Linked DNA regions of Homo sapiens: all the other regions are linked to region 1. Evidence: promoter capture Hi-C in 16 types of primary human blood cells and fetal thymus (Javierre and others, 2016). All regions are on one chromosome and are shown on one strand. The core of a region is centred on a gene start or on the middle of the fragment in contact, and the rest is flanking DNA. Distances in the headings are between cores, read along the strand shown. Region 1 holds the start of KPNA5 (karyopherin subunit alpha 5). Region 2 holds the start of MAN1A1 (mannosidase alpha class 1A member 1). Region 3 overlaps MAN1A1 (mannosidase alpha class 1A member 1). Region 4 overlaps MAN1A1 (mannosidase alpha class 1A member 1). Region 5 overlaps FAM184A (family with sequence similarity 184 member A). Region 6 overlaps LOC124901389 (a long non-coding RNA gene). Region 7 overlaps HDAC2 (histone deacetylase 2).

Region 1 (3,673 bases), core at 997-3,496:
CAAACTGACCACAGTATTAGTTGTTGAATTACGCTCAATATATATAAAATATTTAAGTAAAATAAAATGCTCATGGAAATAAAACTCTTAAAGTATTTATCACCTATATATGTAGCATATTCTAGGCCACTGGCTCTAAACGTTTTCAATCACACATCCTACATTCGTAAAATACATTTGTGCATTCATCCTCAATATATTTATTTCTATACATGCATTACTATTCTAATATACTACTCTAGCATAAAATTCACAAAAAACAGAAATTTTTAAGAATGAAAGTTTTAAAAGGTAAACAAATAGAAGTTCTAATATTTTCTTACCACATCTGACTGGATCACCTTGTGCCCCACCACGCACACATACAAAGGCGCTACTTATGAGACCATTAATCCAAGCAACCACATTGTAACTGTTCAGCATAAATTTTAGCCAAATAAAATACAGCACCAACAACTCAGATATCACTTGTTCCTTTTTCTTCAATAGTACTGACTTCCGGCTTCAGATTTAACACTGCATCCATCCTCACTGCAGTTGCTTTAAAGGGGACAATAAACCAAGGGAAATTATCTCTAAAGGGGCCCCATCCAATGGGATTGTTTCGTTCACTGAAAAATAAATTTAAAGGCTGCACTTCAAAGGCTGAGGTCTCATAAAAATTAAATATTTTTATTTAGAAATGTTATTCCAGCACTTTAAAGTTACAGAATAGAGGAATTTTTTTCATTCATAAGCTTTCAACGGCTCTTAGAAAAACCATGTTTAAGTTGGGCAAATAACTGGAATCTGAACTTATGATTTTCTTTAATATCAATCGACATTATTTCTTATGCCAGTAAAGCCTTCATTTCCATGGGGCTGGGCGCCTCATTAGTGAAAGTAAAAGACTGCACAAAGCGGGGGAAGTGCCAACTAGAGAGCCCTCACAACCAAACAAGCAGTACTTAGGTCGGAGGGAGAGAGTTGCTCCTGACCTACCAAGAAAACCACTTTTGTACAGAATATGAGTCATCATTATTGGGTGTTGTAATTGAGAGATAAATCATTAGTGTTTTTGTCTTTTTTAAAAAACATGTCTAAAAAGCTCAAAAGTAAATGCCAGTGTCATATTCTTTTGTTTGTTTTTTGAGACAGAGTCTCGCTCTGTCGCCCGGGCTGGAGTGCAATGGCGCTCTCGGCTCACTGCAAGCTCCGCCGCCCGGGTTCACACCGTTCTCCTGCTTCAGCCTCCCGAGTCGCTGGGACTACAGGCGCCCACCACCATGCCAGGCTAATTTTTCCTTTTTTTGTATTTTTGGTATTTTTTTTGTATTTATTATTTTGTATTTTATTTTGTATTTTTTGTATTTTTGGTAGAGACGAGGTTTCACCGTGTTAGCCAGGATGGTCTCGATCTCCTGACCTCGTGATCCGCCCGCCTCCGCCTCCCAAAGTGCTGGGATTACAGGCGTGAGCCACCGCGCCCGCCGCCAATGTCATATTCTTTAGACATATCACTGTCATTTCACAGCTTTCAAATACTTCCATCTCCTATGTATTATCGATGAAAACCTAAGTTTTCATCTTAGAACGGAGCTGCCCGACTATTAGAAGCGTGGAACCCAGGCTTGCCTTGTCGTCGGGAATGAGCACTAGAGGCACCTGCACGCAGGTGGAGGAGGGAGGCTGGCGGATGGAGAGGGCGAGGCTAGGAGGCCCTCGGGATGGAACCTGTCTCTTCTTTGGACACTGTGGAATTTCCATAAGCTGCTGGACACAGCTGATGGGTACCAGGTATGAGTGGCAACGTTTGGCAATTCCATTAACTGAAAAGAACTACCGAGAAACGGTGAGGCGGGGCGGCGAAGATGAGACCAGCTGCCCATCACTCCAGAGGACCTGCTGAAAGAATCTGAACTCACCACGCCTTCGCGTCCGCAAGGGAAAGGTCCGGCTGCCACGCCCCCGCGACCGCTGTCGCCCTGGGGAAAACACGAGAAACACCCGGCACCGCCAGGTTCCAGAGACCTTCGCAAAGTAAGGGGTAAATAAAAACCGTGGCCCCAGGAACTAGTAGTTCCCAAAGGGACCAAAACCGAGGCTCCCCCAACCTAGCCCGTGTTCACTCCAACTTACCCATTAATGTGGCACTCTCCGATGCCCTGATTTCCCAGTCCCCAGCGGCGACGTGTGTGGCGGGTAACAGAAGGGCCGCCACTCCGCCCCTGGCGTGAAGCGTAGCGACCCAGTTCGCAATCCAAGATGGCGGCCACCTGCGCCCCTTCTCCGAGACCCCGAGGCTCGGCTCCCAGAAGCCCTTGCACTCGACGCGGCGGCGGCGGCGGCGGCGGCGGCGGCGGCGGAGGAGGAGTGGTGGCCGCACATCCTAGCAGTGGGGCGTAGAGAAAGTGCGCGCCGCCGTCCCACCCACCGAAGGAGGAGCCTGTGCCTGCGACAAGCCCTGGATTTTAGTTGCGCTTGCGGTGGCCATGCTGTAGGTACTCTGCGGCCCGTAGACCTCCGTGTGTGCAAAGGGACGACCCCTCATTCATTCATTCTTCACGCGTGCGTGCATGCATACATTCTTAAGGATATAAACTGTGTCAAGTACCATTTTAGATACATTATTGGGGCTACAACAGTGCAAAAAAGTTGGTAAAAATCGCAGCCTTGTTAAGTGTACGGAGAAGCTCACGTTTTCTTCAGCTTCATTAACTTTTATATGCTCTGCTCGTTTTATTTCAAGCTTTTTGTCATTTATAATTTTATATTCTATAACATCTGCGGTTTTTTGTTTTTGTTTTTCTGTTTTTGGGGGGTTTTTTTTGAGACGGAGTCTGGCGCTGTCACCAGGCTGGAGTGCAGTGATGCGATCTCGGCTCACTGCAACCTCCGCCTCCCAGGTTCAAGCGATTCTCCTGCCTCAGCCTCCCAAGTAGCTGGGACTACAGGCATGCGCCACCACGCCCAGCTAATTTTTGTATTTTTAGTAGAGACCAGGTTTCACCGTGTTGGCCAGGATGGTCTTGATCTCTTGACCTCCTGATCCGCCCGCCTCAGCCTCCCAAAGTGTTGGGATTACAGGCATGAGCCACCACACCCAGCCACATGAGTGTATTTTTGACAGCAATGTAGTCACCAATAAACGAGTAACTTCAGTTAAAGTACTGTAGATTATAATACACAGCCCTGTAATCTACCCTGGAGTTCAACAAACGGTATTGAAAACAGACTGTGTTCCAGATGCAATAGGAAGAGAATAAATAAGATAAACAATACATAAATCCTGCCCAGAAGACGTTTGCAATTTTTTAAGAGGAAAAACATGAAGACAAATTGTTTTAAGATGTTTGCTATTTTCAATAGTTGAAAAATAAACAGGAGAGAAGGGATTATTTAACTGTGGGTATGTAGGGCTGAGAAAGGCACGCTTGACAAAGGAAACCTGGGCAGTGTTACCAGAAAGCGTTGCCAATCATGAGTCCATATAGTGAAGTGAAAGCAAGTTTATTAAAGAAGTAAAGAAACAAAAGAATGGCTACTCCATAGGCAGAGCAGTGGCTTGGGCTGCTGGACTGAGTATATAGTTTTTTTGTGTGTTGTTTGTTTGTTTTGACACGGAGTCTTGCTCTGTCGCCCAGGCTGGAGTGCAGTGGCGCCATCTCGGCTCACTGCAAGCTCCGCCTCCCGG
Region 2 (3,366 bases), core at 169-2,668, 2.7 Mb before region 1:
ACCTATTGTGACCTAGAAAATCTCCCATTAAAAGATTTTATCAGAAATCTAACTTGTTGGAGAATTTCAGTCATTATTTACTGTACATGTAGATTAAATTCATTTCTTTCACTAGATTAAGTTTTATTTAAAGTAAGAGAACAAAAATCCTCAAAAGGATTCTTCCACAAACTTCTAACTAGTACTGCCTAGAAACTTCCTAAGAAATGTTTTTGCACTTCAATTTTTGAGAACTTATAATTTTATAAAAATATAAATTTATCAGTTTTATAAAAATATTGCCAATTTTTCCTCTGTAAGTCTGCTCATAATTATTACTATATTTCATTTTAGGCATGTTAATGTAAAAATTAAATCTACCTTTTGGTAATTTCTTTTGAAAGTAGAAAAATCTAAGCAACAACATTTATTTGGGGATTTCTTTGTAGTGTTTTGTGGTATCACTGATGATCAGGTTTTTAAAAAATTACTTGATTCAAAGATATAATCTTGAAACACAAAAATTTACAAATTATCAAAGAAATACACAAAAACATTAAGTATTGAAAAAGGAAAATGTAAGAATTAAGTTTGCAAGCAAACCTGCAAAAATTACAAGAGAGTTATACTTCAAAAGGACTGGCTGGCCAAATAAAAAAACATAGCAAGTATTTTTTTAAAAATCCCACAAAATTACTAAGGTTCTTAGGTTTACATTAGACCATCCATAATGAGAAACAGCAATTTCAGCACTATCATTGCATTCATAAAGATGGTGACATTACCTTCAGGTAGATGTGGCTAGGGAGTCTTGACTTAGGGGACAAAGTCAAGGTTTCATTACTTAAAAGACAAGAACCAATCACCTTTATTTTTATCTCAGGGTACAAAGTACTTTTTTCAATGGTAGAATGTCAAGTGCTTTGTAGTACTGAAATCAGAGGAAAGTGTCCGATTTTGCTTCTACAAAATGCACAATTTTACTTGTTGACTATTTTCTACTCCTCCCTTACCATGAGCACACAGGGCTTCATGTGATTATTTTAAAGAGGATGCATAATTCGATTGCTATGCCTCTTCAGATACCTTCTTTGTGAATTTTTCAAATTTGCTCTGGCCCAAATATTGGTGTTCCTATATAGTTCTTATCCCACCTAATGTACACAGACACCCTTTAATATGTACCTATAATCAACCACCCATGTTAACTTCTTGTTTAACATATTATCAAAGCCAGGCTGCAAGTATAACCCTGTCATTTAAGAAATACGGAAAATAAGAAAAAAATCTTAAAATAAGCTTCATGATGAACTTAAAAAGAATAGTTACTTTAAAAGATGTAGAAACAACATAGATAAATTTAAAGTTTTTAGGGGAAAAAATCCTTAAACCCACGTACTAAATTTTTAATATTTCCACTACAGAAGTTAAATGCCCAAACTGATTTGGTATCAAAATTAAAGTGTCAGAAATAGAATTAAGTTATAACTTTTATTTATCACCATTTTAACATATACTTAAAAGTGGAATTTATTGTTTTGCTGGAATACTTAATAACATTAATTTGAAATAAAGCTTCTAAATATTTCCGGGGCTATAATTCCATTCTTACAACATAATTTTTAAAATAATAAATCATTCCAAAAAAGGATGATCATAAAGAGATTAGCGTTTGGGGTAGTTAACCCAGTTCCTATTTATCTATCCATTCAAGAGGTAACTCAGTTTTAAGGATGTTGTTAGAAACATTATTTCACAGTGATTCAAACCTTTCAGCCTATGCACAACCTACAAATGCATAATCGTTTGAAATAAAAATTGCCTTTCCATCATTAAAGAAAAATCATCTTTGTTTTCTTTTTCAGTCCTTCTGAACTTATTACCCTGCTTGGATATGCTGCACTCTTCTGGACATAGAATTTCATAGCAGGTATCAAAATAACCAAGCCATAAAGCCAGCTTTATCAAACAATAATTTCCTATTAACAAGAACTTTGAGTGTATTACTCATTTTACACAAAACAAGTAGACGACAAATAATGATGGTTAAAATTAATAATTAAATGATTAAATGAAAACTAGTAAGGATTTCTGATTACTTTTCTACTTTCTCATACAGCTTAACACCTGGAAACAACTGTACTGGAGCCACCTTCCCGAAAGGTGCCAGCTGTTTCCTTTGTCTTAAGCACAAACAGAACTAATGTCACATTTCCAGAGAAGGGTAAGGATGAAATAAGGCGACTACAAACCAGCTTTCAGAAATGCGAAGTCAGTCAACGTTTTCCTCTCTGATAACCCCTTATTTGTGGAGCAACAGGAGAATTACAACACATTTTGGAAAATAATTTCTATTGGACCAACTCCTCACTTCGCTGGAAGTAGTCGGATCCAAGACTTAATTTCAACACAGTGTTCGACTTATTGCTTGAAGCTACCGCAGCATAAAACTCGTCTTCGAATGGAAAATTTGACCAACTTCTATGAGGTAAATGAATAGTGAAAGTACGGGTGGGCGGGAGAGACATACAAGTTTTTTCGGTTTTTTGTTTTTTGGGGGAAGAAAGGGCGCATACGAAAAAAGTCCTAAGCAAGCACAGAACTGTGTCTCTTAGGATGTAAAAGGATGTTATACCAGAGAGCTCAAAAGCTCCCAGGGTCACGGCTCCCCTAACCGAGGGACTTGGGGTTTCACTGCTACCAGGCACCCGGGGAACCCCGGCCTTGGATAAAAAGAGGGTAACTGGAGTAAAGCCGTGCTTCTGAACGACCCAGCGCCCAGGACCCCCTGCCAGACCCCGCCTTTCCCGGGACCCCCTCGGGAGCGCCCCCGACCGCCCCGCACGGGTCGGAGGAGGAGGCAGAGAGGTCCCGCGCGGACCCAGGCGCCTCCCGGGCCAGTCGAGGATCAACCACCCCGGGGACCCCTGCCGAGGCCAGCGCAGGATAAACTCCCCGACCCCGAACTCTGCCTGCCGCTTCTCGGCGCTGGGCCTCAGCCACGGGTTCGACCGTCCTCCTCACCGCGGCTCCCGCCTACCTCGCGCCTCCCGGCCCCGCGACCTCCCCGCCGCCGGCCGGGCCCCGCCGAGGCTGCGCTTCCCGTAAACTCCCCGCCCCGCGCATCCCCCTCCTCGCCTCGGCCCCGCCCCCGCGGGACCCTGGGCGGCGCGTGATTGGCCCGGCCGCGCCGTCACTCTCCGGCCGCGTCGCCTCCCTCGCTTTCCACCGCCCCAAGACCGGCAGTGAGATTAGTGCTCGCGGGGCCGCGGCGGAGTGTACCGTGCTGCTCTACTCGCTGCCATTCGCCCGCAGGTCGGCGCGCTCGCCCACCTGAGCCGCGCCGGGGCTGCGGGACCGTGGGACAGCGCGCTCAGCCCAGCCTAG
Region 3 (3,402 bases), core at 247-2,746, 2.6 Mb before region 1:
TTGCTAACTGAAGAATGGGGCTTGACTCTAGGGATAGCTTGTTTCAAAAAAAAAAAAAAAGAATAATAATAATAAAAAAATGTAATTTAAAAAGGTAACTATATCTGACTTTGCTCATTTTAATGAAATTCAAGCTAATTCATTTTCATCGATCACTAAATAATTAGTAACTTTATTAACTACTAGTAATACTAGTGATAACCTCATAGTATTTGTAAAGTTTAAAAAAGGAATCTAAAAGAAAAAGCTTAGTCTTTATAAGGTTGACAAATCTATAAACAAATCTTTTAAAGATAGCACATTTCAATTTTAAAAATCATTTTGTCACTGCTGCAAAAATTAAAATGTGAAAATTTGAAGTTGTGGAATGATATATGTATGAGTTAGAATGTTTGGGCTTACCTTTTTATTACAAGTATTAAAAAAAAACTTTTGAGATTAGACATTACATGAAAATAGTATTTGTTTTCTATGGCACACTTTTTTAGCTCTCCTTAGGATATTAAGGGAGCATCTGTGATATCCCAGCAAGGAATACCTTTTTTTGGCTGGGCATGGTGGCTCACTCCTGTAATCCCAGCATTTTGGGAGGCCAAGGTGGGCAGATCACCTGAGCTCAGGAGTTCGAGACCAGCCTGGCTAACATGGCGAAACCCCGTCTCTACTAAAAATACAAAAATTAGCCAGGCACCTGTAATTCCAGCTGCTCAGGAGGCTGAGGCAGGACAATCGCTTGAACGCGGGAGGTGGAGATTGCAGTGAGCCAAGATCGCGCCACTGCATTCCAGCCTGGGCAACAAGAGCAAAACTCCATCTCAAAAAAAAAAAAAAAAAAACCCACAAAAATGAATATCTTTTTCTCTTGATCACTAAAGATCTGTAGTTGCTGATGCTTCCCATGTTGGGAAAGCCCTGTAAGATCTTGGCCTGGGGACCAAGTGAGGGAGATCACCTGTCACCACAGGCCTGCAAGGGGTCACTTGCTGGCCTCACATTGACCACAGAGGTCTTAGCACAGCTAATCTAATGAATTCAAAGTTTCCGTGTTAATTAAAAATCTGCCGAATAAACAGACCAAAAACCCTGAGGTTAAACCTTTAAACACAAAGTGACAACTTCTGAACTCAGTGACAGCTTCTGCCTGGAGACCATAGTCATCAACCACAAGACAGATATTTTTGATAAGGAAATAACTACAAATGGTAGACCCTAAGCTGATGCCAAACTGTTCTATGTAAGGAAAGTGTTCTCAGCAATAGTGCTTCCTTCCAAAAAGGAATGGACTAGATATTCACCTATGAATAAGCCCTTTTCTGACCTCTAACTTTTGAGTTGCTAAATTATAATCCCTTAGAATGTTTTAGAGAAATGGACTTATATTTTGGTCAAGTATTTCTTTATTCTTTTTCTTTTCCCCTGTACCCTCTGCCATTTGGTAACAGCACAAGAGTTTTTATAAAATAATGTCAAAATTTGGCCATAAAAAAAGAGAACCATTAAATGCATATGATCCAATTTTTTTAGCTAGAACTGGAAACACTGGGTTTTCCTTAGGAGAACGAGATACTTCTTAGAAACAGAACAATCTGTCCATTACAAGTAGTGATTACTAGAATTCTCATTTTTTAAAACTGGCTTTATCAGTCATTCTGACTCTTTTTCTAAAGAAATTGCTATTGCTAACCACGCTTTCATTTCACTGGGGAATTAATGCTCAGTGGCACATTAGAATTCATGCAATAGCATTAAATAATTACTGTTTCTTTATATATCTCCTGCCAACTTAGAAGTACATTAAAATTGGCTGTAGGAGAATTCAGGACACCTCAATCTGAAGAAAATCCCCATCCATATATATATATTCTCCACTCAGTAGATAAGAGGCAACCTCGAGTACCTGGCAACAAACGAATTGCACACATAGCAACAAGAAGTCGAGTAATACAGAAAGAGGAAAGAGAAGCTGGTCCACATTAGCTCCCGTGGTGGTAGTAAACTTCAGAAAATATCAGAGCTGTAGACAGCAGCTTGGCATGAGGAGAGGAATTCATGGTTTTCCATAAATCTAGTGACAGGCCAGGTCGAATAGGACAACACCATCTTGTCTGCCCCAGTAGCATACAGGGCAGGAGGAGAAAAGTTAGGTACAGAGCTGGAGCTGAGAGCCGAAGTGGAGGAGGAGGAAGGCTGTGAGAATTGAAGGATGTAGGGCAGGCAAGGAAAGGTGGTGCTGTGAGGGTCTTCAGTTGAGCCAGCTCCCAGTCCTGATTCGGCATGTGTCATTTTGGTGCCAGGCCTGGCCACAGCTTCTCAGACCCCAGATAGAGCTGCCTTCTGTGCATGGAGGAGCAGGAGGGCTCAGAGGCCTCAGATGACTGTCTGAGGTTTGCAAGCAGCAAAAAAGTGAGGGCTCTGTTCAGTGTATAGTGGAGAAAATCAGCGTGAGAGAGTTTCCAGCCTTGCTCTTCTCTACACTACCTTGGGCCTCAGCTTCATATGTAAAACAGGGATAATAATACCCCAGAGAGGGTGTTGTAAGGATTGGATGTGTTAAATTATATCAAATTCCCCTCACAGTGCAGTGTGGTAGCTGTTTGACAAAGTTAATTCACTTCCTCCTTTACAGCCTCGGCCTCCATAACCCATGATGACGACAGCTCCTACAGTTTGATTTGTAGAACAAAATAATACTTCTAAAATGTGAAACTACTGCTCATCCAGTGAAAGAATTGTTGAGAAGCTTACACATAATGCTTTATGCACCTCAGATCTCAAAGACTTTTGCTAATTTGTGGCAAAGAGATAGCACATATGTTGCTACCAGAGCAGTCCGGGAAGCTGGCCCTGAAGGGCAGCCTATGCTAGAAGTGGAATAGAAGCTCCTCACAGAGCTATGGGAACCAGGGCTGGTGGGAAGCCACATGCCCACAGACCTAAAAACAGAGTGGTTAGTTCTAGACGCGTGCCTGTAAAGTAGAGGTTGCAGTGCAAACTGCTGGGCTGTGGGCTAACTGTGGCTCACGGATTTTTTTTTTTAACCCTTAGCCAGCGTAGTTTTGATTTTTTTTTTTTTTTTAAATAGCTTTAGTGAGGGGCTTGACTCTCGTTTTGTCACGTTTCCCATTCACTTCTAGTTGCCCTAGACCTGGTGGTTCTGTTCCTGTCTGGCCCTTCAAATGTTCTGACCCCTTTTTCGAGCCTACCACAGAACAGGGCACAAACCAGAGAGCAGACAGTGGACTCAGAACCAGGAACTGAATGTGTCCTATCCCATTGTCCTAGGGTTGCCAGATGAAATATAGCACTTTCAGTTAAATTTGAATTTCAGATAAACAACTTTTTTTTTTTTTAGTATAAGTAGGTTCTGTGTAATATTTCCATTTCCTAAATCTGGCAGTACTG
Region 4 (3,472 bases), core at 582-3,081, 2.7 Mb before region 1:
CCAGAAGTGGTGTCCGCTCATCTTTGAAGTCCTTTCTAATGTATATACTCATGGGCTACAAGTCTTTGTCTTTTTGATTTTTTTTTTTTACAACAGTCAGAAGTCATTTAGAATCAGACCTAGTGAATAAAGAGACTAATGAATATAGGAAATGCCTTTTCCAGTTTTCAAGTTGTTTTCCAGAATGATTTATAAAATGAAAACTGCATTCATTTTCTTATATGACTGTAAACTGGTGAAAGTGGTGCCAAAAACAAAAAAAAGTCTTTTGACCAAATACAACACTGCTGAAATAAATGTAGATGATTGTGAGATTCCTTTAAAGGTCAACACTCGAATATAAAGATTCTGTTATTTTATTGAAAAGTGTTTATATCTACAGCCAGTATTTTTTTTTTAGATATGTTATTTTTAAAGTAGGTAGAGTCTTCATTTATTTTCTTTATTACCTAGAATACTGGACAGTATTTAATAAGGGTTGCCATTTTTCTTGTATTTCAATTTTATACAGGATATACCTAGAGTTGGTTTTGTTTTGTTTCCATTTTGGCAAAATTTTTTGAGAGATAAAGGTGTCTTAATGAGTAATGCTTACAGTACCACACTAAAATGAAAAGTCATAGGTTAGCTATTATTTTCCACTAGAGAAATCAGAATTACATAAACATGTTCCTCCCTAAGAAGGTGTGATATTTTGAGAAAGAGAAAGAAGCTTGGTTTTCTATTTCCCAATTTCATATTGTTTCTCCTGAAAAGTGCTGTGTCATATAAATAATTGCATGGTAGAGGCTCAATGAATTTTATGCATTTGTCAGTGGTCCCTTTTGCAGTTTATTCTACAGATGACTATTAATATTCCTAAAACATCACTTCTCTCGTATTGCCCAACTCAGGTTTTAATGGTCCTCCATTTCCTATAAAGTAATGATTCAGACTTCAACATGCATCAGAATCACCTGGAGGGCATGTTAAAACAGATTGCTGGTGCCGGGCGCAGTGGCTCACACCTGTAATCCCAGCACTTTGGGAGGCCGAAGGGAGGATCACTTGAGGCCAGGAATTCAAGACCAGCCTGGCCAACGTGGTAAAACCCTGTCTCTACGAAAAATACAAAAACTAGCCAGGTGTGGTGGCGTGAGCCTGTAGTCCCAGCTACTCGGGAGGCTGAGGCAGAAGAATCACTTGAACCCAGGAGGCGGAGGTTGCAGTGAACCGAGATTGTGCCACTGCACTCCAGCCTGGGTGACAGAGTGAGACTCTGTCTCAAAAAAAATAATAATAAAAAAATTTTGAAAGCCTGGAGTTTCTGATTCAGTAGGCCTGGGTGGGCCCCAGAATTTGCATTTTTAGCATGTTGCTAGGTGATACTGATGCTTCTGGTCCAGTGACTTCAGCTAGAAAAACATTTTGCTCTAGAATGAAGTCACAGTGAAGTCACAAATGTTTAGCTTGGCATCCGTAGTCTTCTGTAAATCTGCATCAGTTTATTTGTTGAGTTGTATCTCTGTTACTTCCCAGGAAGGACTGTGCTTCCACAAAACTTACATAGTTACTATCTCCAGAACACATGTCGTTTAGGATTTCACCTTGTTTACTTTATGGTTCTCAAAAGGAGAGTCTTCTCACTTGCTCAAAATCCATGTCCTCATGAAGCCCTCTCTACACTCTCAACCTTCACTGATTTCTCCCTTCTCCAAATTCCCATGTTATTGATTATTTCTATCTTTGGCCTGTGTGTCACTGATTTTGTGTGCATATATGTTATCTTTCAAGTAGATTTCAGACACCCTAGAAGTGGGGACACCTTTTTTATCTCATAGGTCCGTGGCCCAGAATTTGACAATAAAAGGCAATTCATCCTAAATGTAACCCAGATTAAGTATATCAACAAAATGTTTTATAAATGTGAGGCAGTATGGCAGAGTAGAAACACTTCTGTCCTCCCTTTCCACGCCTTTGAAATGGAGTTAATAATTCCTCTTTTTCAGAGTTGTTGTAAGAATTAAAATAGAAAATGTATGTGAATCTCTCAGCGCAATGCCTGGCATGTATCATTCATTATTCAATACATAGTATGTACTTACTAGCAGCTAGGAATTGGTAGGAGTGATAAGGAAAGGGGTTGGTAGGTAAATTGGATTCAGAAAGTCATTTCCAGGAAAGAAAAGTATGTTTTGGCTGCAGTATTGCTGTATTGACCAATAGCTTCTATTTTCTATTGTTGCCTCCCCTTTTAGTTGTTGTTGCCAAATTTCTCACTTCCTATGGCAGGAAAGTAAGCATTATTTTGCCTTGTTAGAATTGTTATTACACAGAAGGGATGCTCATCCTCAGGAAAACCATAGAGAGGGTGTTGAATGGAGTGGTTCCTCATTCATTCATCAGTGTCCAGTTACTTCTGACTTCTGGGCCTGCTGTCACACAACACTCAGATATGTGGGGAGGAAAGAAAGCCAGGGATAAAGAAATCTGGAGAAATACCTTCAGGGCATAGAAAGAAATAATTTTTGTGAGCTGAAAAGCTGAAAATGTTTCATTCAGAGATAACTACATGTGTAAATTTAGCTCAATAATTAGGCATATGGTGCTTTCATTTTAGGATGTATCCACCCTTTGTGATAATATCCGTTGATTATTAGAGCTGCTGCAGCTTTAACTACATTGGCAGCAGAGATTCCTAGTGCATTTAAGACAAGAATTCAAGAGTGAAATGGAAAACTGAATTAATAATTTGTTCTTGGGTGGTTTTAATCTGCTCCTTAAATGTAGTTTATGCCTGGAGGATTAGATTTGGAAACAGAACACCAACTAATGTTCTAAAAGTTTACTTCCTTTTATTGGAACATTATACTCTTAAAGATTTTCAGAAGAACATTTTGGCTGTTTTAGTCTTAACATACGAGGTACACTTAAGTTCTTATGATTCAACCTAAAACAATAGAAAGCTTTTAATCTATGATATAATTTTTAACTTTTAAAGTATTTCATGTTAGACTTCAAGGCAGGAATTGTTTAATAAAAACCAACTAATAAAAGGAAAGATATTCTTTGTTGGGCACGAGGATATTTGGGTCTCTTTTCCCAAGCTTTTTAAAATCCCCCTAGGTCTATATTTTTCAATCTTAGAATTTAAAATCTGCTTGCTGTTGATGGTAAAGAAAATAGGAAAATTAAAATCAAAGGTTATTTCTGTTTACTTCCCATACCTTGTCAAATGTTTCTAAAATTGATCGAAAATAAACCATTGTAATTTTATAAATTGAAAAAAGAGTTATATTCCAAGATATAGCATAGTAGGATGAGCTGAAATAGGAAGTTTAAAACAGGTGTCTTTGGGAGAGTTGGGGATGGTGATGCTTTCCATCTGCTTCTTGCTTAAAGCTTTAACTACGGTCCTATTAGAATATACCTGAGAGTCTGGGAAGTCAGTGTATTTGCTTCTGTGGTTGTAGTTCTCCACCCACCTGTGATC
Region 5 (3,274 bases), core at 447-2,946, 2.4 Mb before region 1:
TAAACTCTTTAAAAATGTATATATAGTAGTTTTTTTTCTCCTTCGAATATCAAAGTTTAAAGGTTTCACATTTATTCTGCATTGTGGTAGAATGTTCTGAAAATACATTGTGCATGTTTCAAAGGTTTGGCTGGCTATGAAAGGATAAGCATGAAAAGTAATAAAGATTATAATTTTGCCCATAGCAAAGCTCAATATATTTTTAATTAAAAAGCAGTCTTTGCTGTATGCATATTTGTTCATATCCTATTTCCTAAGAGCCTAACATAGCTGCCTTCTCATGGTAAGGAGAACACCAGTTCTTTAAGCACCTTTTATGTAAGGGAGACTTTGGAAAATGTTACAGATACAGCAGGGAGCAAGACACAGTCCCTGCCTTTTAAAGGAAGTCTAGCATATTTGGGTCACTCGTGTCAAGTTTTAAGAATTAATATTAGATTCTTGAGCTACATTATGGCAAGTTTCTGCAAATGTTAATGGCTGAACTATCTCAAGATAGGCAGTGAAGCTGGATGGATTCAATTATGTTTTATAAGACCACATTTGTATACTTCTGTGCTCTCCACTGTGTTGACTTTTCAGGATATCAGGTTGAAAAGCAGGCCTTGTGGGATGTAATTATAAAAGCTTTTTTTTTGTCACTTTCAAATTACTTTTTTTCCCTTTTTGTCTCTTTCAATTTACTCTTTGAGACTGGTTCATCCTCTTTCATGGGTTAACTTAATTTTTCTGGTTGCTTTTAGATAATACAAATCATCCTTCAGTAACAAAGTCACAAAAGTCTCAATTTGATTATTAAAATTAAAATGCCCAGTACCAACAAGTAAAAACTGCAGACCAAGCCTGAAATAAAGATGAAGCTTCTCCCTTAACTGGTCTCTTGCTCTGTCTCTTGCAAGGGGGAAACCAGTAACTAGGGAAGGGGGTATTATTGCCTTTTTACTTCTTACCTGGTTTTTCTACTCTTCCTGCTTTGTCTTGCCAGTTCTGGTTTCTCACCCTTCCAAAGTTGGTCAAGGAAGAAGTGAAAAGAGTAAAGAGGAGCAGCAAACTTTTACTTGATTAGTGAAGAAGCTAGCTGGTGATCTAGTTTCAGTGCTTTTGTAGCCGTTGCAGATGTTTAAAGCTTATTCTTTCACTGGTGAATCTTCTACCTCCCACCTCAGTGGCTCTAGATTTTCACCTCAATTCCTTGACAGTGAGAATTCCCTTATGCGCTGATTGGTTGCTTACTCCTTCCTCAGCCTCTTGGAGCTAGCAGTACCTTCACCTCCACTTTGCTGAGGTCTGTGCAAACTCTAGATACCCCTCTTGCATGGACTTGTGTGATCCCACCCCAGGTTGTTCACTCTTCCGTAGAGGCCACATAGGGAGCACTCATTCTTTGCACAAACTCTGCTAGTGGTCCCAGTTCAGCCCTCTCTCTTGTTCTCACATGCCTCTTCATGCAGCTTCTCATCATTTAGATTTTCTGGGGATTAATCAGGTACCAGGTTAGCATGTTCTTCAAAGTGCTTGAGGCACATGTCAAGTTCTTCAAGTCATTCCCTCAAAGCCTTTTTCCCTAGGCTTTAGGTGTGGGACAAGCATCTTCCACCCTTCCCCCTTGAAGACACAGGCCCCTGTTACCACAGCTCTCCCCAGGGAAATCTCTGAAACCTACTCTGTAATCTTCTTGAAGCACCACCTCACTAGTGGTGGGGGTGGAAAGTAACACATCTCAGCACTCTTCTTTAGACTGCCTCTTGACATTTTCGAGAATGTTCTGGCAGCTGCTTTGGAATGTCATTTCTATCGTCTCTGGTTCTCAGCAGAAACTTCCCTTTTAATACCTTGTTATGTTAGCTGCTTATCAAATCCCTCTTTAGTTGATTGCACTTTTGATACAGAGTCTGTTTATCACTTAACTAGTATAGACATAAGTAATATATGGTACAGTGTAAGTTCCCAAACAGCAGGAAGTAGTTTATTTTGTGTTTTCTGTGCTTAGCATCAAGTCCTCTTATTTAATACCCAGCTTATGGCTCTTCTACTAAAACTGTCCTGACCAGCTACCCTTGTTGGGCTTTCCTTGCTGTGCGTTAGCATTGATTGTTGGTACCTCTTACTTGATACTTAATAATGCAAACTTGCAAATACTGTTTATTGTGTTTATAAATATACTTTGTTTTCATAATTTGACTGTAAGGTTCTCAGCTCTAGGGACTGTATCTTTTATTACATGTAACCTTAATATGAATGGTTTGCACATAGTACCAAAGCTTAATAAGTATTTACTGAAGAAGATGGTGGTCATAATGATACAGCAAGTAATTTTGTTATACAGCAGAGAAAGACAGTACTTTTTAGGAATTGTATCTGCTACTCTTCTGGGTTAATGATAGATCATTTCAGCTGAGTTAAATTATTCCTAAATATGTAAATGTTTATTGACTGCCCTTTAAACTGCTTCAAAAAGCTATTTTATTTCTTAATGTATTTTTGATGTAAAAAATACAAATATAATGTTCTTTGTCTACATTATAAGTATTTGACACTTCAGAATGTAGGTAATTAATATACTAGTTTCTTAGCAAATATAAAAAAGCCTTGTGATCAGTCATTTTATACTAACTCTGCTTTTACTATATCCAAAACCAGAATGTGTTTATATAACACCAAAACCAGTGAATTTTTCAAATAATACTATTTTCTGTACATGAAATAAATGATTTTTCACTAATTGGTTTGTTTGAATTATCTAGATACTCTTTCATAATAATTCTATATTGCTTATGACTTGAGTCTTTGAACAAGAATGGTAAGTGGCCTCATAAAACATAGCAATTGGCTGTGTTTCACCTTAGCACTAGTACATGCCAAATGCAGCATCTCTTTTTCTTTGTTACATTGTAGCTTTGCCATGCTGTTATGCAGTGGCTTGGATGTAATCTTTTAGTCATAGTGGAGTGGTTTGGATTAATTTGTTGCATTTTACTAATGGACACAAAAGCATAGTATCCTGTTAATTAACTGGTCACAAACTTATAAAGGGACTTCCTTTAGAGTTAAAGATTTAGAGTTAAAGGTTAAAGGTTTAGGTTGGGTGCCCTGGCTCATGCCTACAGTCCCAGCACTTTGGGAGGCCAAGGCAGGCAGATCACTTGAGGCCATGAGTTCGAGACCAGCCTGGCCAACATGGTGAAATCCCGTCTTTACAAAAAATACAAAAAATTAGCTGGTGTGGTGGTGGGTGCTTGTAATCCCAGCTACTTGGGAGGCTGAGGCACAAGAA
Region 6 (3,480 bases), core at 171-2,670, 2.3 Mb before region 1:
AACTGTGTTCTTTGTGTAGACAGTTGTTAAGTTTGGTGTTCCTAAGGGGTGGAGGGGGAATGATTGGTAGAGCCTTGTTTTTAGCCATTTGCTCCACCCTTTAAATACTCTTCTTAGGAAGCCAAATCTATGCAGAATGAATCTGTAAATTCAGTAATGATCCTCTTAACACTGACTGAGTTTAAAGAGGACAGTTCTTTTCTGAGGAGGGGAGTGGAATCTATTAGAGAGCATGGCTTGAGTTTTTGTCAACCTCATGGACTATTCTCACAATAAAAACTGTAAAAATAAATTAAAGGGAGAAGTTACAAAATTAAAATCATGTAAAAAGGATGAGTTCATGTCCTTTGCAGGGACATGGATGAAGCTGGAAACCATCATTCTCAGCAAACTAACACAAGAACAGAAAACCAAACACCGCATGTTCTCACTCATACGTGGGATTTGAACAACGAGAACACATGGTCATAGGGAGGAGAACATCACACACTGGGGCCTGTCAGGGGATGTGGAGCTAGGGGAGGGATAGCATTAGAAGAAGTACCTAATGTAGATGACGGGTTGATGGGTGCAGCAAACTACCATGGCACATGTATACCTATGTAACAAACCTGCATGTTCTGCACATGTATCCCAGAACTTAAAGTATAATAAAAACATTGATGTATGTTAGCAAATTCAACAATATATAAAAAAGATGAATACATCATTACCAAATGGAGATTATTTCAGAAACGCGCAGTTGATCTAACATTCATGTATCAATTGATGTATTAGTTTCCCAGGGCTGCCATAACAAAGTACCACCAACTGAATGGCTCAGAACAAGCAAAATTTACTGTCTCACAGTTCTGGAGGCCAGAAGTACAAAATCCAAATATCAACAGGGAAATCCTCCTCCTGAAGGTGCTAGGGAGGGATCTGTCCAGGTCTCTCTCTTAGCTTCTGGTAATTTCAGGTGTTCCTTGGCTTGTAGATGGCCATCTTTTCTGTGTCTCTTCATGTGGTATTCTTGCTGTGTGTGTATCTGTGCCCAAATTTTCCTTTTTATAAGCTTTTTCTTTTTTCTTTTGAGACGGAGTCTTGCCCTGTCACCAGGCTACAGTGCAGTGGCGTGACCTTGGCTCACTGCAACCTCCACCTCCTGGGTTCAAGCAATTTTCCTGCCTCAGCCTCCCAAGTAGCTGGGACTACAGGCGCATGCCACCACACCCAGCTAATTTTTTTTTGTATTTTTAGTAGAGACGGTGTTCCACCATGTTGGCCGGGATGGTCTCAATCTCTTGACCTCATGATCCGCCCGCCTCGGCCTCCCAAAGTGCTGGGATTACAGGCGTGAGCCACTGTGCCCAGCCATAAAATTTATCCTTTTTATAAGGACACAAGTCATATTGGATTACTGCCCATCCTAATTCCTAATATCTCAATTACCTCTATAAAGACCTTATTTCCAAACAAGTGACATTTAAAGGGACTGGGGATTATAACTTCAATATATCTTTTTTGGAGGGACACAATTCAATCTATATATAAAATATGAAACTAAAAGAAAAAAAAAGCAAAGTGATCATTTCCACACATGTAGAAAAGCCTTAATGAAATCCAACATTCATTCTTGATAAAAGTGCTCAAATCTTCCTACATCTTAATAAAGGGCATCTACAAAAAACCCTGGGCTAACATCCATATTTAAGAGTAAAAGACTGATAACTTTCCCTCTAAGATCAGAAGCAAAGAAAGGATGTCTGGTCTCATCACTTTTATCCAACACCGTACTCAAGCTTCTAGTCAGTGCAAAAAGACAAGAAAAAGAAATAAAAGGCCTCCAGAATAGAAAGGAAGTAAAACTGTCTTTATTCATAGATAACAAATCCTGAATATATAGAAAATCTAGCAAAATCCACAAGAAAAGCTGTTAGAACTCATAAGTGGTTTTTACAAAATTGCAAATACAAGATTAATGTTAAAAATTCAATTATACCAGCCTGGGCAACATAGTGAGACCCTATCTCTACAAAAAAATACCAAAATATTAGCCAGGTGTGGTGGCACAGACCTATAATTCCAATGTATTAGTCTGTTTTCACACTGCTATAAAAAACTACCTGAGACTGGGCAATTTATGACAAAAAGAGGTTTAATTGACTCACAGTTCTGCAGGCTTAATAGAAAGCATGACTAGGAGGCCTCGGGAAACTTATATTCATGGCAGATGGCAAAGGGGAAGCAAGCACGTCTTACCATAGCAGAGCGGGAGAGAGAGGGAGAATGAGTGAGGGGGAACTGCCAGAGAGAGAGAATGAGTGAGGGGGAAGTGCCAGACACTTTCAAAAAACCTGATCTCATGAGAACTCACTATCATGAGAAGAGCAAGGGGGAAGTTCGCCCCATGATTCAATCACCTCCCACCAGACTCCTGGGGATTACAATTTAAGGTGAGATTTGGGTGGGGACACACAGCCAAACCATATCACCCAGCTACTTAGGGGGCTGAGGTAGGAGGATTGCTTGAACCTGGCAGACAGAGGTTGCAGTGGGCCATGATCACACCACTGCACTCCAGCCTGAGCAACAGAGCAAGAACCTGTAACAACAACAACAAAACCCCCAATCATATTTTTACACACTATCTGACATAGTTTGAGTATTTCTCCCTTCCAAATCTCATCTTAAAATCTGATCCCAAGTGTGGGGCCTAGTTGGGGGTGTCTGGGTCACAGGGGCAGATCCTTCAGGAAAACTTAGTGCTGCCATTGCATAATGAGTTCTCATTCTGTTAGTTGCCTCCAGAGCTGATTGTTAAAAAGAGCCTGACCACTACCTCCCCTTTCTCTTGCTTCTCTTCTGGCCATGTGATCTGCACAGGCAGCCTCCCCTTCACTGAGTGGAAGCAGCCTGAAGCCCTCACCAGAAGCAGCCTGCAGAAGTGTGAGCCAAATAAACCTCTTTTATTTGTAAATTATTCAGTCTCAGGCATTCCTTTTTAGCAACACAGACTAAGACACTATCAAAGAACAACTGAAAATTTAAAATGTCATTTACATAATATCAAGAAGTATATTTTTCCCCCATCCTTAGATTTATGGATAAATCTGACATAGGGTGATATGGTTTGGCTGTGTCCCTGCCCAAACCTCATCTTGAACTGTAGTTACCATAATCCCCAGGTGTTGTGGGAGGGACCCGGTGGGAGGTAACTGAATCATGGGGGTGGTTATTCCCATGCTGTTCTCTGATAGTGAGTGAGGTATCACAAGATCTGATGGTTTTCTAAGGGGCTTTTCCCTCCTTGCTCCTCACTTCTCCTTCCTGCAGCCCTGTGAAGAAGGAGGTTTGCTCCCGCTTCTGCCATGATTTTAAGTTTCCTGAAGTCTCCCCAGCCATGCTGAACTGTAAGTCAATTAAACGTCTTTCCTTTATAAATTACTCAGTCCCAGGTATGTCTTTATTAGCACTGTGAAAATGGACTATATAAGACTA
Region 7 (3,330 bases), core at 306-2,805, 2.7 Mb after region 1:
GACAGAATAATAACAGCCCTACTTTTAAAAATGATTTTTCAGAGGACTAGATATGCATTATATAAGTTGATTTGAAATTATGCCATCGTGGAGGGGTGGAGATGGAAATACATTTTAATTTCAACATGATTTACATTGCATATTTTGGGTTATTCTTGCCCTGCATTCCCTGATCAAATTGGAAAGGAAGTAACCCTGCGTATAAGTTAATTTGTAAAATTACATTGTTTCTAAAGTTTAGAGATTTATCCTTGTCAGGGCTTGGAGTAAAGAGGAAAATTTTGGTTAGGGAAAGTGGTACTGAGGTCCTTCTCGAAGCTGTCAGTTGGTGTTGGTAGTGATGGGCTCTGAGGAAGTAAGCTGCTTGTAATTTGTTGTCACCACAATGGAACCCTAGAACCAGGAGGGTACACTTGAGTAGCAGTTTCTGAACAGCGCTCTTGTCCTGGGCCCATTTATGATAACCTTCGTTGTGGGAATGGGAGCAGGCACGGGTACCCGGGAAAGGATGCAAGCTTGATAAGTAGGGTGGAAATATTTGTCTTGTGATTGTGACTTAATATGATACTTTATTGTAGCCCATTCACCTGCTTACGTGATGGCCAGCAACAAGTGAATAGCTGATAGTTTGGAAATCTCTGGTGGGTTATTTTGTCTTTTGTCTGTGACTCGTTTGTTAAAGTGGAGTTCCTAGTTGCTTATGTTTCACATACTCTTTTAATTTTTGTGGGAGGGAATTAAAATATTTTGCAGAGATTATTAATGTTTATATTATGCTAATTATTAATATGTGATAGTGTGCTGACCTCATCCAAAAACTTATATTTTTATTACCAGAGAACATTGTTTTGTCAGCTTACAAAAGTAGCAATACTAATTCTTTTTTTATTGTGAGAAGAGAATGCAAGGAAAGGAGCTTCTGTATCAAAGAATCGTGACTTTAAGGTATATAACATGGATTGGATTGGGAATGGGTTATATCTGTAGTAATAGGGTCTGAATTATCTGCTAGCCTAGGTTAGATGGTTTTAACTTCTTGGTAAAGGAAGTAGAAGGAAGAAAGTGAGTGAAAAAGAAAAGGACGGAAGTAGCAAATTCTATAACCATAGGAATCCTACCTTTAGGCTTCCTGGGGCTGTTAGGCACACGGAGCCTCTTGGCCACACAGAATGTCTGCCACTGAGGCTGTTTGCATCTTAATGAAAGAACTTTTAAATATATACATATTGTTCTCTGCACGTTATGTAATCTTCAGGTAACCCTTTAGGTCACTGAAACGTTGGTCCCAAGGGAACCTTCAGACATTGATGGATTAGGTATCCTTAAACCTTTGAAGAAAAGTAAGAGAAGTTATTACTTCTCTGACTGTAGCTATTGATCCATGCCTCCAAATTCCCAAAAACATACTTCTGAATCATGTTCCTTCTTTATACACTAGAAGATCATCAAGAATCTGTAAAATGATACAGCTAATTAGATAGTCACTAAGATCCCTTCTGGGCCTTAAAACGATGTGATTTTTCTCTACTTAAATATAATTAGCAGCTAAGCTGTGTTAGGCTCTAGTTATACCACTCACATTTTTAATACTGTATCTAGACATGTTTATGCTTTGTTTTGAATTAATCTTGAGGCCAAACATATTTAGTGCTTGTTTTTATGGTGTATACAGTATAATAGGGTTTATATACCTAATTTATGTAACTATACACAAATTTCTCTGTGCTCTATTTTTTCCTCCTCTGAGAGGGATGCATAATCAGTTTTGGAGACAAGTGGTCCAGAAAAAAACACTCAAAGACTGTATACAGATAAAACTATATAAATACAAAAGTTATCAAGATTAGGCCAGGTGTGGTGGCTCATGCCTATAATCTCAGCACTTTGGGAGACTGAGGCAGGCAAATCACCTGAGGTCGGGAGTTTGAGAAGAGCCTGGCCAACATGGCGAAACCCCGTCTCTACTAAAAATACAAAAATTAGCCAGGCGTGGTGGCAGGCACCAGTAGTCCCAGTTACTCGGGAGGCTGAGGCAGGAGAATGGCTTGAACCCAGGAGGTGCAGGTTGCAGTGAGCCAAGATAGTGCCATGGGCAACAAGAGCGAAACTCCGTCTCAAAAAAAAAAGTTACCAAGATGATACCTCCCAACGTACTCCTTCTTCAGCAAATTATAGAAATTCTACTTGGCAGCCAACGATTGTCAGATTTTCTTAGACTTGTATTTATGAGTAGTACCAAAGTCTTTTGCTGAATAACCTTTAATACAACTACATGGGTTCTTAGCTGTGGTATAAATCTTTATTATCCGTGAAATAGGTAATAATTTCTTTGGAGGCAAATAAGTGCTAAATTAATTATAGCAGCAGTTCATAAATACCAGTAATACTAATTGCACAATAAAACATGACTAAATAAGACTGAAATTTTCCTATACTTCTCTTTCCCCAGAAATCTTTTGCCTCTCTTTTCTTTCAAATTTTACCTCATCAGAGATGCTTTCTCCTATTACCTAAGTCCCTGTTATTGCCTTATTTTTCTTCCTTTTGGTTGTACCATATAACTTTTGTCTCTCTCCTCACTATAACATAAGCTTCATTAGGACAGTCTGTCTGTTTTGCTTGTGTTTGTATCTTCGCCAACTACATTTAAAAACGTAGCTTTTTTTTTTAATTAGTGATGAATAAATTATTAATTCCTTATACTTTTTTTTTTTTTTTGAGATGGAATTTTGCTCTTATTGCCCAGGCTGGAGTGCAGTGGCGTGATCCCAGCTCACTGCAACCTCCACTACCCTCCCGGGTTCAAGTGATTCTCTTGCCTCAGCCTCCCAAGTAGTTGAGATTACAGGCACGTGCCACCACCCCTGGCTAATTTTTGTATTTTTTAGTAGAGATGGGGGTTTTACCATGTTGGCCAGGCTGGTCTCGAACTCCTGACCTGGGGTGATCCACCCACCTCAGCCTCCCTAAGTGCTGGGATTACAGGCGTGAGCCACTGTGCCTGGCCAATTCCTTATTCTTATAGATAGAACGCTTTCATATAACGTTCCCTCTAATTCTTGAAACTACTCTGAACTACATTTAGGTAGGATGGGTGGCATTTTGGCATTTTTGGTATTGTTTAGATGAAAACAGATTCACATTTGTTTGGTGCAGTCTACCACTTTTCCTTTTCCACACTGACTGTAGTTTTAATGTTCAAGGAGAGTTCAACATCCGGAATCTTTATTTTTCTTTTTTCCTTTTCAAAGTGTTTCCTCTGCTACCAAACAAACAAAACTCCTTAACAAAAACTTTAAATGCTTCTGTTGACAAGTCCTTAAAGGAAAA

Evidence for each region. Contacts are between HindIII fragments. The CHiCAGO score rates a contact against its expected background, and 5 or more counts as called.
Region 2: a fragment that was not itself captured here is called in contact with the fragment with the promoter of KPNA5 in region 1 in 4 of 17 cell types (non-activated CD4 T cells, total CD8 T cells, fetal thymus and 1 more); the score reaches 9.6 in non-activated CD4 T cells.
Region 3: a contact is called between a fragment that was not itself captured here and the fragment with the promoter of KPNA5 in region 1, in 2 of 17 cell types (total CD8 T cells and naive CD8 T cells). The highest score is 13.5, in total CD8 T cells.
Region 4: a contact is called between a fragment that was not itself captured here and the fragment with the promoter of KPNA5 in region 1, in 1 of 17 cell types (total CD4 T cells). The highest score is 6.5, in total CD4 T cells.
Region 5: a fragment that was not itself captured here is called in contact with the fragment with the promoter of KPNA5 in region 1 in 3 of 17 cell types (non-activated CD4 T cells, total CD8 T cells and naive CD4 T cells); the score reaches 7.6 in non-activated CD4 T cells.
Region 6: a contact is called between a fragment that was not itself captured here and the fragment with the promoter of KPNA5 in region 1, in 2 of 17 cell types (non-activated CD4 T cells and naive CD4 T cells). The highest score is 6.1, in non-activated CD4 T cells.
Region 7: a contact is called between a fragment that was not itself captured here and the fragment with the promoter of KPNA5 in region 1, in 5 of 17 cell types (activated CD4 T cells, total CD8 T cells, fetal thymus and 2 more). The highest score is 15.8, in activated CD4 T cells.

The regions. Positions count from the first base shown.
Region 1 is chr6:116,679,784-116,683,456 of GRCh38, reverse strand. It overlaps KPNA5 (karyopherin subunit alpha 5), which reads right to left and starts at 2,246. Exons shown (of 14, transcript NM_001366306.2): 1 at 2,119-2,246. The coding sequence starts at 2,122. RefSeq lists enhancers at 684-1,665, 1,666-2,649. The HindIII fragment of the contact is 1,991 bases long and covers 740-2,730 here.
Region 2 is chr6:119,349,628-119,352,993 of GRCh38, reverse strand. MAN1A1 (mannosidase alpha class 1A member 1) reads left to right here and starts at 3,233. Exons shown (of 13, transcript NM_005907.4): 1 at 3,233-3,366. RefSeq lists a silencer at 2,673-3,312. The HindIII fragment of the contact is 276 bases long and covers 1,281-1,556 here.
Region 3 is chr6:119,313,610-119,317,011 of GRCh38, reverse strand. All of the region lies in intron 2 of MAN1A1 (mannosidase alpha class 1A member 1), which reads left to right. Among named protein-coding and RNA genes, the nearest start is that of MAN1A1, 34 kb to the left of the region's middle. The HindIII fragment of the contact is 2,493 bases long and covers 250-2,742 here.
Region 4 is chr6:119,333,881-119,337,352 of GRCh38, reverse strand. All of the region lies in intron 2 of MAN1A1 (mannosidase alpha class 1A member 1), which reads left to right. Among named protein-coding and RNA genes, the nearest start is that of MAN1A1, 14 kb to the left of the region's middle. The HindIII fragment of the contact is 2,233 bases long and covers 715-2,947 here.
Region 5 is chr6:119,071,967-119,075,240 of GRCh38, reverse strand. All of the region lies in intron 1 of FAM184A (family with sequence similarity 184 member A), which reads left to right. Among named protein-coding and RNA genes, the nearest start is that of MIR548B, 4.5 kb to the right of the region's middle. The HindIII fragment of the contact is 1,135 bases long and covers 1,129-2,263 here.
Region 6 is chr6:118,935,944-118,939,423 of GRCh38, reverse strand. All of the region lies in intron 1 of LOC124901389 (a long non-coding RNA gene), which reads right to left. Among named protein-coding and RNA genes, the nearest start is that of MCM9, 2.5 kb to the right of the region's middle. The HindIII fragment of the contact is 727 bases long and covers 1,057-1,783 here.
Region 7 is chr6:113,965,945-113,969,274 of GRCh38, reverse strand. All of the region lies in intron 1 of HDAC2 (histone deacetylase 2), which reads left to right. Among named protein-coding and RNA genes, the nearest start is that of HDAC2-AS2, 2.1 kb to the left of the region's middle. The HindIII fragment of the contact is 2,076 bases long and covers 518-2,593 here.